Regions from separate parts of the Homo sapiens genome. Here region 2 is linked to region 1. The links are contacts of gene promoters, found by promoter capture Hi-C in blood cells and fetal thymus (Javierre and others, 2016). All regions are on one chromosome and are shown on one strand. The core of a region is centred on a gene start or on the middle of the fragment in contact, and the rest is flanking DNA. Distances in the headings are between cores, read along the strand shown.

Region 1 (6,518 bases), core at 1,066-3,565:
TTTTCACGGGAATTTGTAAGGTAGAAATAAAAATACCTGCTTTGTAGAATTTTCTGAGGACTTAAGTAGAATGATAGATATAAAGTTCCTAAAACAGTGTATGGAATAATCAATGGCAATTACTCACCTGTGTGAATTCTCTTAATCTAAAGATATCCTCTCTTCCACTCTGTAATAAGATTCTTTGCCAATTATTTTTCACATGACATTTAATACATCATCGTGTTAATGGATTTTCCTTGTCTATATTTTCCCTCCACAATTCAACTATTAAGTCCAAAGCCTATATCTGGATCTCACAATTTATTTGTGCCCTGCAGTACCCATTCTTAATGACAGTTAACTTAAAAAGCTCTTGGTGTTGACTGCTGCATGGGTGAATAGCTATCAGGTGCACAAGTTCAGCACAAGGAAGACACTGGATGCAGCTGGATGCCTGAGACATCCAGTAGTTCCCCTGCCCTCCACTGTGGGCGGCCCCTTATGAGTGAGGCATATGTGGTGGTGCTGAGACAAGAGGGAGAAAAGGGAGGGAGAGTCATTGGATTGAGAAATAGATGATGAATATTGTATGAAGGGGACTCAGAGAGCTTCTGAATGAAACAGGAATTTTACAAGATGTTACTGAATCCAAGGGTGGGAGACAAAGGAAGTTGTTGAAAGAAAACAAATAGAAATAGACAAAGGAATAAAGGGAGATGAAGGAATAGAGCAAGTGAAGGTAAAGGAAGTGGAAAAGTGCTGGGGAGGTGGAGAAAACGGGACTAAAGGGACAGAAGAAGATGGAGGAGCCGGGAGAGGTGGCTCACGCCTGTAGTCCCAGAAATTTGGGAGGCGGAGGCGGATGGATCACTTGAAGTCAGAAGTTTGAGACCAGCCTGGCCAACATGGTGAAACTCCGGATCTGTACTAAAAATACAAAAAAATTAGCCGGGCGTGGTGGCACACACCTGTAATCTCAGCTACTTGGGAGGCTGAGGCAGGAGAATCGCTTGAAGCTGGTTGGAGGCTGCAGTGAGTGGAGGTCATGCCACTGCACTCCAGCCTGGGTGACAGAGCGAGACTCTGTCTCAAAAAATCAAAAACAAAAAAAAAAGAAGAAGAAGATGGAGGGTGACAGGGGAGGGGGTCAGTGGTCTCCCCCCTCCCCCTGCCCTGTCTCAATCTCTCTTACCCTCTCTTACCTGGCCTATTGCAATCTATTATCTACAATATTATAGGTCATTCTAATCTTATTCTGCTCCTTCAGTTTACTTCCACTCCAGGACACCTTCTTTTTTTTTTTTTTTTTTTTTTTGTGACGGAGTCTCGCTGTCGCCCAGGCTGGAGTGGCGCGATCTCGGCTCACTCACTGCAAGCTCCGCCTCCCGGGTTCACGCCATTCTTTTACCTCAGCCTCCCGCGTAGCTGGAACTACAGGCGCCCACCACCTCGCCCGGCTAATTTTTTTTGTAACACGGTTTCACTGTGTTAGCAGGATGGTCTCGATCTCCTGACCTCGTGATCCGCCCGCTTCCGCCTCCCAAAGTGCTGGGATTACAGGCATGAGCCACCGCGCCTGGCCTCACTCCAGGACACCTTCTACACAGCTGTCCATGAGACCCCTCTGACTCAGATGTGATCATATTCCTCATTGTTATAATATTTGATTTGCTCACAGCTTAAAACTCAAACTCTCAGAAGCCACCTAAAATGCTCTGTGGATAAACTGAGGGTGGAAAAACATACCTACATACGTGCATGCAACTCTCTCTCAGCATTTCATACAAGACTATAAAAAATAGCCTCCCTATACCTTTCTAATCAGTATCACTGTCACCTGGGAACTGATTGCTGTTCAAAGAACTCATAGCTTCCATGTAGGCAGTATATTTCATTATTTTCATATCTTTGGTAATAAATCCTGTTTCCTGAAATGCCTTTTGCTACCTTCTCAACCTAGAGGCGATAAGAGAAATATCACTTTCCCTTTGACTCCTCCCCCCATTTCTCTCATGCAGAATTAATTCCTTATTTCTCTGTGTTCCAATAGCATTTGATAAATACCTCCATTATAGCATTTATCATTTTTTCTATTGCTTCTCTTAACTAGATTGTAAATTCAATAACTTAGTAAGCCCAGAGTCTATGACAGCATCTCTGATTTAGCACTTGCTCAGAAATGTTTGCCAACTTAATATATTAGCAGGTAAATGTGACTTTGTTTTATGTGACAATGTCGAGAATCTTGTGATTTTCCTCACCGTTGATGTCCTTTGCTGTGAGCATCCTCCCTCTAAGTCTCATAGGGCGAATTCTGTGCTTTGTTGTTTTCCTATGTAATCGGAGGCATCCGTTTTCAACATCACATTCCCCTTGCAGTTTTTCTTGAGTCTCTGCTCATCCTTTAGACTTACTATCGTCAGGTCTATGTCACTTGCTTATTACTCCCACCCTCTAGCAGGTGTTGCAAGATCTTTCTTACAGCTGATCTCTGTGCAGCTGAGGAAACACTGGTCTCTCACCTCCCTTTAGCCCAGAATGGGGCTTCAGTGTACATCTTCTTGGAGATCCTTTGCTTCAGCCTCACAGTTTCTTAGCTCCTGCCCTTACTTCATGAATAATACCATGGGTGAGACCCCAGGGGAAGGGGGAATATCCTTTGGGAGAAACTATTGGACAGGGCTCAGGAAGCTGAGCTGGGCTGATTATCACTGGGGCCAAGGGAGCAATGGGAGTTGTTAAAAAGTTTCTAAATGTCTCAAAAGCACACACTCTTTGAGAGGTCTTCCTTGGGGGGCCCAAAGTACCAAGCACATTGAAAATTTTAGAGATTTGAGGAATGGGTAATATTCAGGCCAAGATCCAAAAGGACAAGAGGGTCTTCAAAAAAAAGGAGACTCTGAGAGTTTTAGGAGAATTTCTTTCTTAGACCAGTGACACCTACCCTTGAGAGAATTACCTGAAGGCCTTGTTAAAAGGCAGACTTCTGTTCCCAGCCCAGAATTTCTCATTCAGTACATCAATGGTAAGACCAAGAATTTGCATTTGTAGCAAGTTCTCAGATAATGCTGATGCACCTGTTCCAGGGACCAGACATTGAGAACCAACGACTTGCTCTTCAGCACAATGGATAGTTCTCTTTCATGGTGTTGTCAAGGTAACTGGTTTGATTTCTTCTCCTTTTAAACTGAATTGATCTTTACATAGGCAACGTCATGGATGGGAAAATGTCTGCATACTAAAATGAAAACTTAATTACCCCATAAATCTTGTTCTTCATCTTGTCAACCAATACCCCCACAGTTGATTCACTACCCATATCAATTATACTCACACCATCTACAAAGTGCTAGCATTATTTACATGTCAATTATTACTCCCTTTAATACAAGGATTGGCACAAGAAGCCCATATATTTTCTAATTATGAGGAACTGATTAAAAATTGGAATTAACCAACACTGTAAGCTTGATGTGCTGTAAAATCTGTGTGATTTCTCACAGCTCTCTGATCCACGTGAGGTTCTCAGGTTGGTCTGAGTTCTTTCATTGCGAATGTTTATACTTGGCAAAATAAAGACTCTGCCTCTGGGGATAAGAACACGAAGTGACGTTCTTTCACATACAAGAGATGTCAATTTAAAAAAAACACAAATTCTTCCCATTATTTGGAGCTTTAGTCTACTTTAAAATTGAGCCACTCAGGAAAGTAGTCTAGATTGATGGTGGGGATGGGCACAGGCCTTGTTAATGTTATTGACTCTCAGATGGGTGATTTTGAATTACCTGGATTAATTCTTTATGATTCCGATTTAGCTTTCAGTAATAGAGACCTGGTAGGTTCCAGTTTATATATTTCCCCTGTCAAAAGTACAGGTAGGTCGTAAAATGTCCATCAAAGCTCATCTTTACTGCAACCACTAGCCAGTATAATGGTTGCCAGTGTATGAATGGCCTGGATGGAGTAATTATGCTAAAGACTCAGTCATGGAAAATTGAGCTGAGAAAATTATTTCTATATGTATCACATTTCTAAGAAAATAAATGTTTGTCAGACTTAGCTACTATTATAATGTCAAGCCACTAAACGGATACAGGACACGTGTAGAGGAAATATCATGTAAATTCTCATGCAGGAAGCCCAGCATCATTGATAATTAATCATTCTCCCTTTGTGATGGTCTGTGTTATGTGTCAACTTGACTAGGCTATAGTTTCCAGTTATTCAATCAAACTCTAATCTAGGTGTTGCTGTGAAGGTATTTTGTAGATAAAATTGATGTCTATAATCAGTTGACTTTAAGTAAAGGAGGTTATCCTAGATCATCTGGGTGTGCCTGATTCAATCAGTTGAAAGAACTAAAGAGAAGAACTGAGGTTTCCCTGAAGGAGGAAAATTCTGCATGTAGACAGCAACTTCAGCTGATGGCCTGCCCTGCAGATTACGTACTTGCCTAGCCAGCTTCACAATCATGTAAGCCAAGTCCTTGCAATAAATACCTTTATCTCTCTCTCTCTCTCTCTCTCTCTCTCTCCTCTCTCTCTCTCTCAGAGAACATAGCCTCAGTAAGAGATGTCTTAAAGGCATAAATTCTCATAAATATAGCCATATTCATTTTAATGGGGGCATATTCAACAAATTCAATTAAGCACCTGGTGTTGTGGATTAACCATGTGTAAGATAAATCTGGAAGAAATTTTACTTATATTCCTTCCCTTTGTGTCAGTGTTGTAGATTATAAGCAGCTTTTCTGTGCTGTATATTACCTTTAGAACTGATATTCTGAATCATATAAAAGTAAGATTTTTATAAACTAAAAAGTGGCCCAAGACAACTTTTAAAAAATTAAATGAATAAATGACTTCTGGTTATAAGAAAACAAAGGTTTTTATTTTTCTCTTCCTCACTGGCAACAGAAATTCCACTTTCAATAAAATTAAGACATGTTTACAACTCAGATGACAACAAAACCCAAAATGAACCATGAAGGACTATCAAGTACTGTGAAGAGAGAGAGGCTTCTGCCCACAACAACTCCTGGACAATGCTGGCAGAGTTGGCTCCTAAGTAGGTGGTATATAATGAAGATAAAACAACCACCTTTGTGTGGATGGACCAGATCCGGGCACACAGGCTGGCTGCAAGAGCTTCCTTAAGTGATATTAAACACCAAAAAGGGATTGAGAGGCTGGGCTTATGCCACATTTATAACTGCACTATCCAGTAAGATAGAGAAACTGTGGGCTATGGGCACCCCTGCAGCTGCTGATCTTTACCAGCTGAAGAGATAGACTAAATTTACACGCACGCACACACACACACACACACACACACACAAACACACAAATGCCTCTATCATTCAGTGTTCAGTGCTGCACTGTGAGCCCAGGACAATTAACCCAGAGCACTCCCTGGCCTGTCTTCACTACCATCACCACCACTTTTTATTTTAACACATAACTAGTTAAACAAATTGCTTCTTTAAGAATGTGTAATAATTAAAAAGCAACTTGCAGAGTCTATAAAAAATAGGTCAAAAAGGAGGAAAGAAGGCAGGTGAAGAGCACAGAACAGAATAGAGAAGAAAATTTTTATTGAAAAGTTTTTCAAGAATGTAGATAACTCAGAAAAAAATGAATCAAACTTCTATCTATTAAGAGCTCAGCAGAATAATTAAATCTTAAGAATTGAATGATAATATGAAAACAGAGATGGAAAACGTAACTGGCAGAGATCAGGAAAAAAGAATAGGAAGAAAATAAAATCATCACAAAAAAATGGAAACAGTGAAAATGAGAATAGTCACTGCTTAAAATACAGTAAGATATCTGAAAGGCAGGCTTAAGAGAACTAAACACAATGAAATGGAAAAGAGCAAAAGTTTAAAAGGATGAGTAAGAAGTGTGTGTGTATGTTTGTACATGAAATATAGACAAAGAATATCAGTTTAATTAATACTTGGATGTCCTTGAAGAAGACATATAAATAATTGGAGCAAAAAATATCCAAAGATGTAATTCAAGAAAATGTTCCTGAAAATGAAATAAATGGAATCAATAGATTGAAAAGGCAGATTGTGTGCCAGGAAATGTGATAAATGTCAACAGATGCTACAACAGAACTGAATAAAGTTACAGAATTCCAAAGATAAAGAAAGAATCCTAAAAGCTGCCATGGAAAAAGATGAATCCATCTATAAGAAGAAGGCTGGCTTCAAACTTCTCAATAGCCCTAGAAAACGGAAGAACATCTACAAAGACCTAAGAAAAATAAAAAGTATTATCCAAAGATGCTTATTCAGTGAAATTGTCATTTATATATAAAAACAACAGATAAATTGTTTCAAATATTTAATTCAGAAAATATAGTTCTCATAAATCTTTCTTGAAAAACCTACCTGGGGACAAACGCCGGTCAATCAAGATATTAATAGAAATGCAAATGGCCTCTCTATGTGGCTACTTGGGCTTTTTCCTAGCATAGTAGCTTGCTTCCAAGAGTGGGCATTCCACAGAGAACTAATTGGAGTCTGTATT
Region 2 (6,518 bases), core at 2,428-4,927, 43 kb after region 1:
GGAGGCTGAGGCAGGAGAATCTCTTGAACCCAGGAGGCGGAGGTTGCGGTGAACTGAGATCACGCCACTGCACTCCCGCCTGGGTGACAGAGTGATACTCCGTCTCAAACAAATAAATAAGTAAGTAAAAATTAAACTAAATAAATAAAAGTTTGGCCGGGCACGGTGGCTCACACCTATAATCCCAGCACTTTGGGAGGCCAAGGCGGGCAGATCACTTGAGGCCAGGAGTTCAAGACCAGTTCATAATGACAAGACTCTACTACAAGTACAAAAATTAGCTGAATGTGATGGCACACACCTGTACCTGTAATTCCAGCTACATGGGAGGCTGAGGCAGTAGAATTGCTTGAACTCGGGGGGCGGAAATGCAGTGAGCCGAGATCGCGCCACTGCACTCCAGCCTGGGTGACACAGTGAGACTATGTCTCAAAAAACAAACAAACAAACAAACACCCCCCCCACACATACTTAAAAATATTAAAATACTGACAATACCAAGTGCTTACTAGGATGAGAAGCAACTAGAACTCTGACATTGCTGGTGGGATTACAAAATGATATTGCCACTCTGGAAAACAGTTTGGCAGTCTTATAAAGTTAAATACACTTTATAATATGACAACAATTCTTAGGTATTTACCCTAGAAAACTTAAAAGCTTATATTCGCACCAAAACCTGTAAATAAATAGTTGTAATGGCTCCATTTATAATTTCCAAAACAACAATAAACAACTGGAAACAACCCCATGTCCTTCAGTGGTAAATAGATAAACCTAACATTCCTCAGTGAGAAAAAGCAATGAACTGTTGATACATGCAACCACTTAGATGAATCTCAAAGGCATTATTGAATGAAAGAAGTTAGTCCTAAAATGTTACATGCTGTATGATTCCATTGATATGACATTCTCAAAAAGACAAGCCTATAGTGATAGAGAACAGATGTGTGGTTGCCAAGACTTAGGGATGGGAAGGACAGTGTGATTACAAAGGGGTAGCATGAGGGAGTTTTCGGAGGTAATGAAACTCTTCTGTATCTTGTGGTGCTTACCTAAATCAACGTGTGTTAAAATTCATAAAACTGTGACCAGTCACGGTAGCTTACATCTGTAATCCTAGCACTTTGGGAGGCCAAGGCAGGAGGATTGCTGGAGTCCAGGAGTTTGAGACCAGCCTGGACAACATACTGAGACCCTGTCTCTACCAAAATTTAAAAAACTGTTTTCATTAGCCAGGTGTGGTGGCAGCCTCCCAGTGACTTGGGAGGCTGAGGTGGGATGATCGCTTGAGCCTGGGAGGTCAAGGCTGCAGTGAGCTGTGATCATTCTACTGCACTCCAGTGACAGAGCAAGACCTCATCTCAAAAAAAAAAAATTATAAAATTGTCTACAAAGTCAACTTTACTGAATGTTAATTCAAAATTAAAATGAAAACATAAAGCTGTAAAGGCAAAGATATTTTCAGATATGCCAGGTTTTAAAAATTTACCTCCCACACACCCTTTCTCCAAAAGCTACTGAAAGATGTGCTTTTGTGACGGCATGATGAAGAGAATAAAGAAGGAAAACACGGGATCCAGACGTGAGAATCAACACAAAAGGAAAATGATGGAAACTTCTTAGGCAGTGGTGAAGAGAAGTGCCAGGAAGATAACTGCTTCCAGGAAGACAATGTGTTTAAGAAGTAACCTGTCCAGTTTGTGGTAGGATGATGTACTGCTCCCAGAGGACTGATATCAAGAGAAAAGCAGAATTGATAGATCATTTGGGGTGTCTGAACAAAAATTCAAAGAAGATTTTCAGTTCTGGTGGAAAATTTCAGAATGAACTAGTGTATAGAAAACAACACAAACAAAAAAAGAGGCAATTATTAACTTCAGGAAGTAAAAAAGTTGGAATGTAATTATAGTACAGTTTATGACTCAACTATCAATATTAATTGCATTACCTTGATAATATAAACGCCGAACCAATGGCATACCAAAGATGGATGGTGAGAGCGGTCTGCCTCAAGCGCTGGCAATAAGAAGTGCATTACTGAGGGTAACTTTAAAACTATCACAAAACTAGAAGTCAGTGTGGTTTTCATTGTCACTGTGCACTAGCAATTCTAAATAGTGTCAATTATAAAATTCTTCTTTCCCCCCACTGAAAATTTTTTGTTTGTCTAATTTATAATTTATAAATAATTTCTGAAATTACTGTTGAGCTTTAACATTATATTTGCAAGCTTCAAATGAACACATTCTTATTATTTATCCTTTAATAAACATTTTATGTTTTACATGAAAGCTAATTGAGCAACTCCCAGTTGTACATTCCATCTTCAACACACACAGATTCAGCTACAGGCAATTGTTTGAGAGTAAACTTATAATAGTTCAGAATCATTGTTCAGGTTCATTTCTAGTGCAGTTTATGTCTCTACCCCTGTGGTACCACACATTCCTGCTTTTAAACAGTAGATTAAAAATAATTCAAGCACAGTATTGTAACGACAAAGAAACAGAACTTGAGTTACTTCATCTTGTCATTCTGTGCAAATCACTTGGAGTTTAAAAATAATGAAACAGTGCAAACAAAAAGGTACAATATAATATTTTTGGTTGGTAAATGCCAGTTTTTGTTCATATATGATATGCTTTACTTAATTTAAATAATTTTAAAAAAATTTTTTTGAGACGGAGTTTCGCTCTTGTTGCCCAGGCTGGAGTGCAATGGTGCCATCTCAGCTCACTGCAACCTCCGCCTCCCGGGTTCAAGCAACTCTCCTGCTTCGGCCTCCTGAGTAGCTGGAACCCGCTACCACAGGCACCCGCTACCACACCCAGCTGATTTTTGTATTTTTAGTAGAGATAGGATTTCGCCATGTTGGTCAGGCTGGTCTCGAATCCCTGACCTCAGGTGATCCACCTGCCTCGGCCTCCTAAAGTGCTGGAGGGGTGAGCCACTGTGCCTGGCCTAAAATTTATTCTTTTTTTTTAATTATTAGGTTTTTTTGTTTGTTTTTTTTTGTTTGGTTTGAGACGGAGTCTCGCTCTGGGAGTGCAGTGGTGGGATCTCGGCTCACTGCAACCTCCGCCTCCCGGGTTCACGCCATTCTCCTGCCTCAGCCTCCCGAGTAGCTGGGACTACAGGCGCCCGCCACCATGCCCAGCTAATTTTTTTATATTTTTAGTAGAGACGGGGTTTTACCACGTTAGCCAGGGTGATCTCTATCTCCTGACCTCATGATCCACCGGCCTCGGCCTCCCAAAGTGCTGAGATTACAAGCGTGAGCCACCGCGCCCGGCCATTAATTATTAGTTTTTAAAACTAAAGAATGAATCCAGAAAAATGTAATGTATAATTAGTGTTATTATTAGTACTTTCCTAAATGGTACCCTTTGGAGACATTTGTTTTATTTTTAAAGATCACTTAATAGTTATTGAACAATTACTAACCTAAAATATTAATATATCAGATTGTAACTAAAGACAAAAATTCTGTTACATAGATATAAGAATTCTTTGATAAATAGTTGTGCTTTTTGTCCTGCAGGAGCTTGGAAGAACTTGCGGTCATTTGTAATATTGTTGTGAAACCAGCAACTGATTCAGTTTGTAATTACTCTGAATTTTATAAAGAAACTTGAAGTGAGGTACCCATACTAACATGAAACAATATTAATCCAGTGGACTTCAGTAAGGAAAAAATGTAAAAAAGCAATGTATGGCTCTATCTTGAAATGTATAATACCTTCAACATTACATAAAGTTACTGAAAAAGCTAAAAAATTACAAGCTGGTGCATCCAAGGCACCTACACTAAAAAAGACGCAATATTAGGATGATTGCTTTTCCTTTTTTAGTACTGCAATATTCATTTTTTATTTTTTACTGTTATTAGTTATATGAAGTTCAATAAAAAAGGTTCACTGTTTCTTTTCCTTACTATTACATATTTGTTTTATTTCATGATTATTATATTTTTATCACCTCCTAGGTGATAAAAAATGATCCAGTACAGCTGTCACATATGTTGGCAGGCCTCTGCACTGGATCTTGATTTAATGAAAAGTGGTGATAATTATATGTGGAGGATGAGAGGATGCTGAGTGTATGTATATGTGTGTTAGGAGAGGTCTAGTAAATCATCGAAAAGCTCAGCTGCCATAGCAAGAAGTCACTGTTTGGGGGCTGTGAACATGACAACAAAGGAGATCGTTGTAAAAGGTAGGGATTACTCCCTCAGAGCTGTGAGGTTTGGATAAGTGAAAATAGGGAGCAGAGAAATGCAATTTTTCATTTAGGGCCAAGTGGTAAAACTTGACTTTTTAAACTATGTGCATGTCTTACTTTGAAAAGATGTCATTACAAAGCCAAAAGGACTTAAAAATGAAGAAGAGCCGGATGCGGTGGCTCACGCCTGTAATCCCAGCACTTTGGGAGGCCGAGGTGGGTGAATCACCTGAGGCCAGGAGTTCGAGACCAGCCTGACCAACATGGAGAAACCCCATCTCTACTAAAAAAAAAACACAAAATTAGCCAGGCTTGGTGGTGCATGTCTGTAATCCCAGCTACTTGGGAGGCTGAGGCAGGAGAATCGCTTGAACCTGGGAGATGGAGGTTGCAGTGAGCTGAGATTGCGCCATTGCACTCCAGCGTGGACAACAAGAGCGAAACTCTTGTCTCAAAAAAAAAAAAAAAATGAAGACAGTGCAAAAAGATTGGGAAGTCAGCTTTACACACTAATTATAAATGCTAGGAATTACAATTACAAAACAGAATATAAATAATATAAATCCCAACAAGAGAAAAATCAACATAAGCAACAAAATTGGGAGATTGGCAAAGGGAGGAGGGAGGAAGTGTAACTGTGCTAACCATCTCACCTTTTATAGCGGGGGATCAATCAATACTGTCTGAAATCGAAATGTGTGAGGTTTGAAAAATCAATGACTCCAACCTCTTTATGATTTTATGGTTTTTATAACCACTTGTCCTTACCCTTATAAGAATCCTTTTAGTAATTAATATCTCCTGGGGTGGAAACATTATTTAAATTATAGCCATTCCTTCAGATCTACTTCAATTTATTTTTCTTCTGTTGAATTTCATTAAAATTTCAGAAGCTTAATTTGCATTTTTGATAAAATGTAGTGATTAATTTTTACAAAATCATTTTTGTCTAACCTTATGTAAAACTTTCTCTTTCTATCCATTTATTCTTCTTGTTGTTTATAAGCACAGAAAGATATTTGAAATAATGTTTACCAGTTACTGTCTTCACCCATTCTAAAATACTGATTTTTTTTTTTTCACATATAAACAACTCTGAAATCTAGTGACCACACAATGGCTGACAGCCAGGTGGCAGCCATGAAGTAGTTGTCATTGCTGACATCTTCTGGTAAGATCAAGCAAGTTCCAGCATCAAAACTCCAAGCAGTGCCTTGGAAATAAAGTCCAGAGACAATAGCTGAGCACTCGTTTTTGTTTTTTTGTTTTTTTTTGAAACGGAGTTTCGCTCTTGTTGCCCAGGCTGGAGTGCAGTGGTGTGATCTCGGCTCACTGCAACCTCTGCCTCCCGGGTTCAAGTGATTCTCCTGCCTCAGCCTCCCGAGTAGCTGGGATTACAGGCGCCCACCACCACACCTGGGTAATTTGTTGTATTTTTAGTAGAGACAGGGTTTCACAGTGTTAGCCAGGATGGTATTGATCTCCTGACCTCATGATCCGCCCGCCTTGGCCTCCCAAGGCCTAGGATTGCAGGCGTGAAGCTGAGCACTCTTTTAAGAAATGCTGCATCATTGATACTCTTGATGCACAAAGGATATTGTATTCACACACACACACACACACACACACACACACAAACACACACACACACACAACGACTGAGCCAAAAGGTGATTCAGAAGAGTTGAACGCTAAATGTGAAGGTGTTTTAGAAATATATTGGACCAATTTATTTCTTATATTTTTTGTTTATGTTTGTATATGAGTAACATGCTATAAAATATATATTTATACAAGTTTAAAACAGTTCTTTTAATAAAAACTCTAGATTATGTAAAGCATTTTGTTATGGTTTAATTGGTAGGTTTTTTTTAGTGATACAAAAAATGATTTGAAGTATAATCAAAACCTAGATTTGATGAACTATCATATTTTTTTTCTGAGGTGGAGTCTCGCTCTGTTGCCCAGGTTAGAGTGCAGTGGCACGATCTCAGCTCACTGCAACCTCTGCCTCCTGGGTTCAAGAGATTCTCCTGCCTCAGCCTCCTGAGTAGCTGGGATTACAGGCGTGCGCCACCACGCCCAGCTAATTTTTGTATTTTTAGTAAAGACAGAGTTTCTCCATGTTGGTCAGGCTGGTCTCGAACTCCTGACCTTGTGATCCGCCTGCCTCAGCCTCCCAAAATGCTGGGATTACAGGCGTGAGCCACCACGCCCGGCCTGAACTATCATATTTCAGAGTGACAGAACTGGGTGGTTTGTTTCTTCTTTAAACTTTTCCATATGGCTTAATT

The links. Contacts are between HindIII fragments. The CHiCAGO score rates a contact against its expected background, and 5 or more counts as called.
Region 2: a contact is called between a fragment that was not itself captured here and the fragment with the promoter of OR4D2 in region 1, in 3 of 17 cell types (total CD8 T cells, non-activated CD4 T cells and naive CD4 T cells). The highest score is 5.6, in total CD8 T cells.

What each region holds. Positions count from the first base shown.
Region 1 is chr17:58,162,779-58,169,296 of GRCh38, reverse strand. OR4D2 (olfactory receptor family 4 subfamily D member 2) reads right to left here and starts at 2,315. Exons shown (of 2, transcript NM_001004707.4): 1 at 2,244-2,315. The HindIII fragment of the contact is 4,615 bases long and covers 1-3,451 here.
Region 2 is chr17:58,120,982-58,127,499 of GRCh38, reverse strand. No RefSeq gene overlaps it. Among named protein-coding and RNA genes, the nearest start is that of OR4D1, 24 kb to the left of the region's middle. The HindIII fragment of the contact is 2,884 bases long and covers 2,236-5,119 here.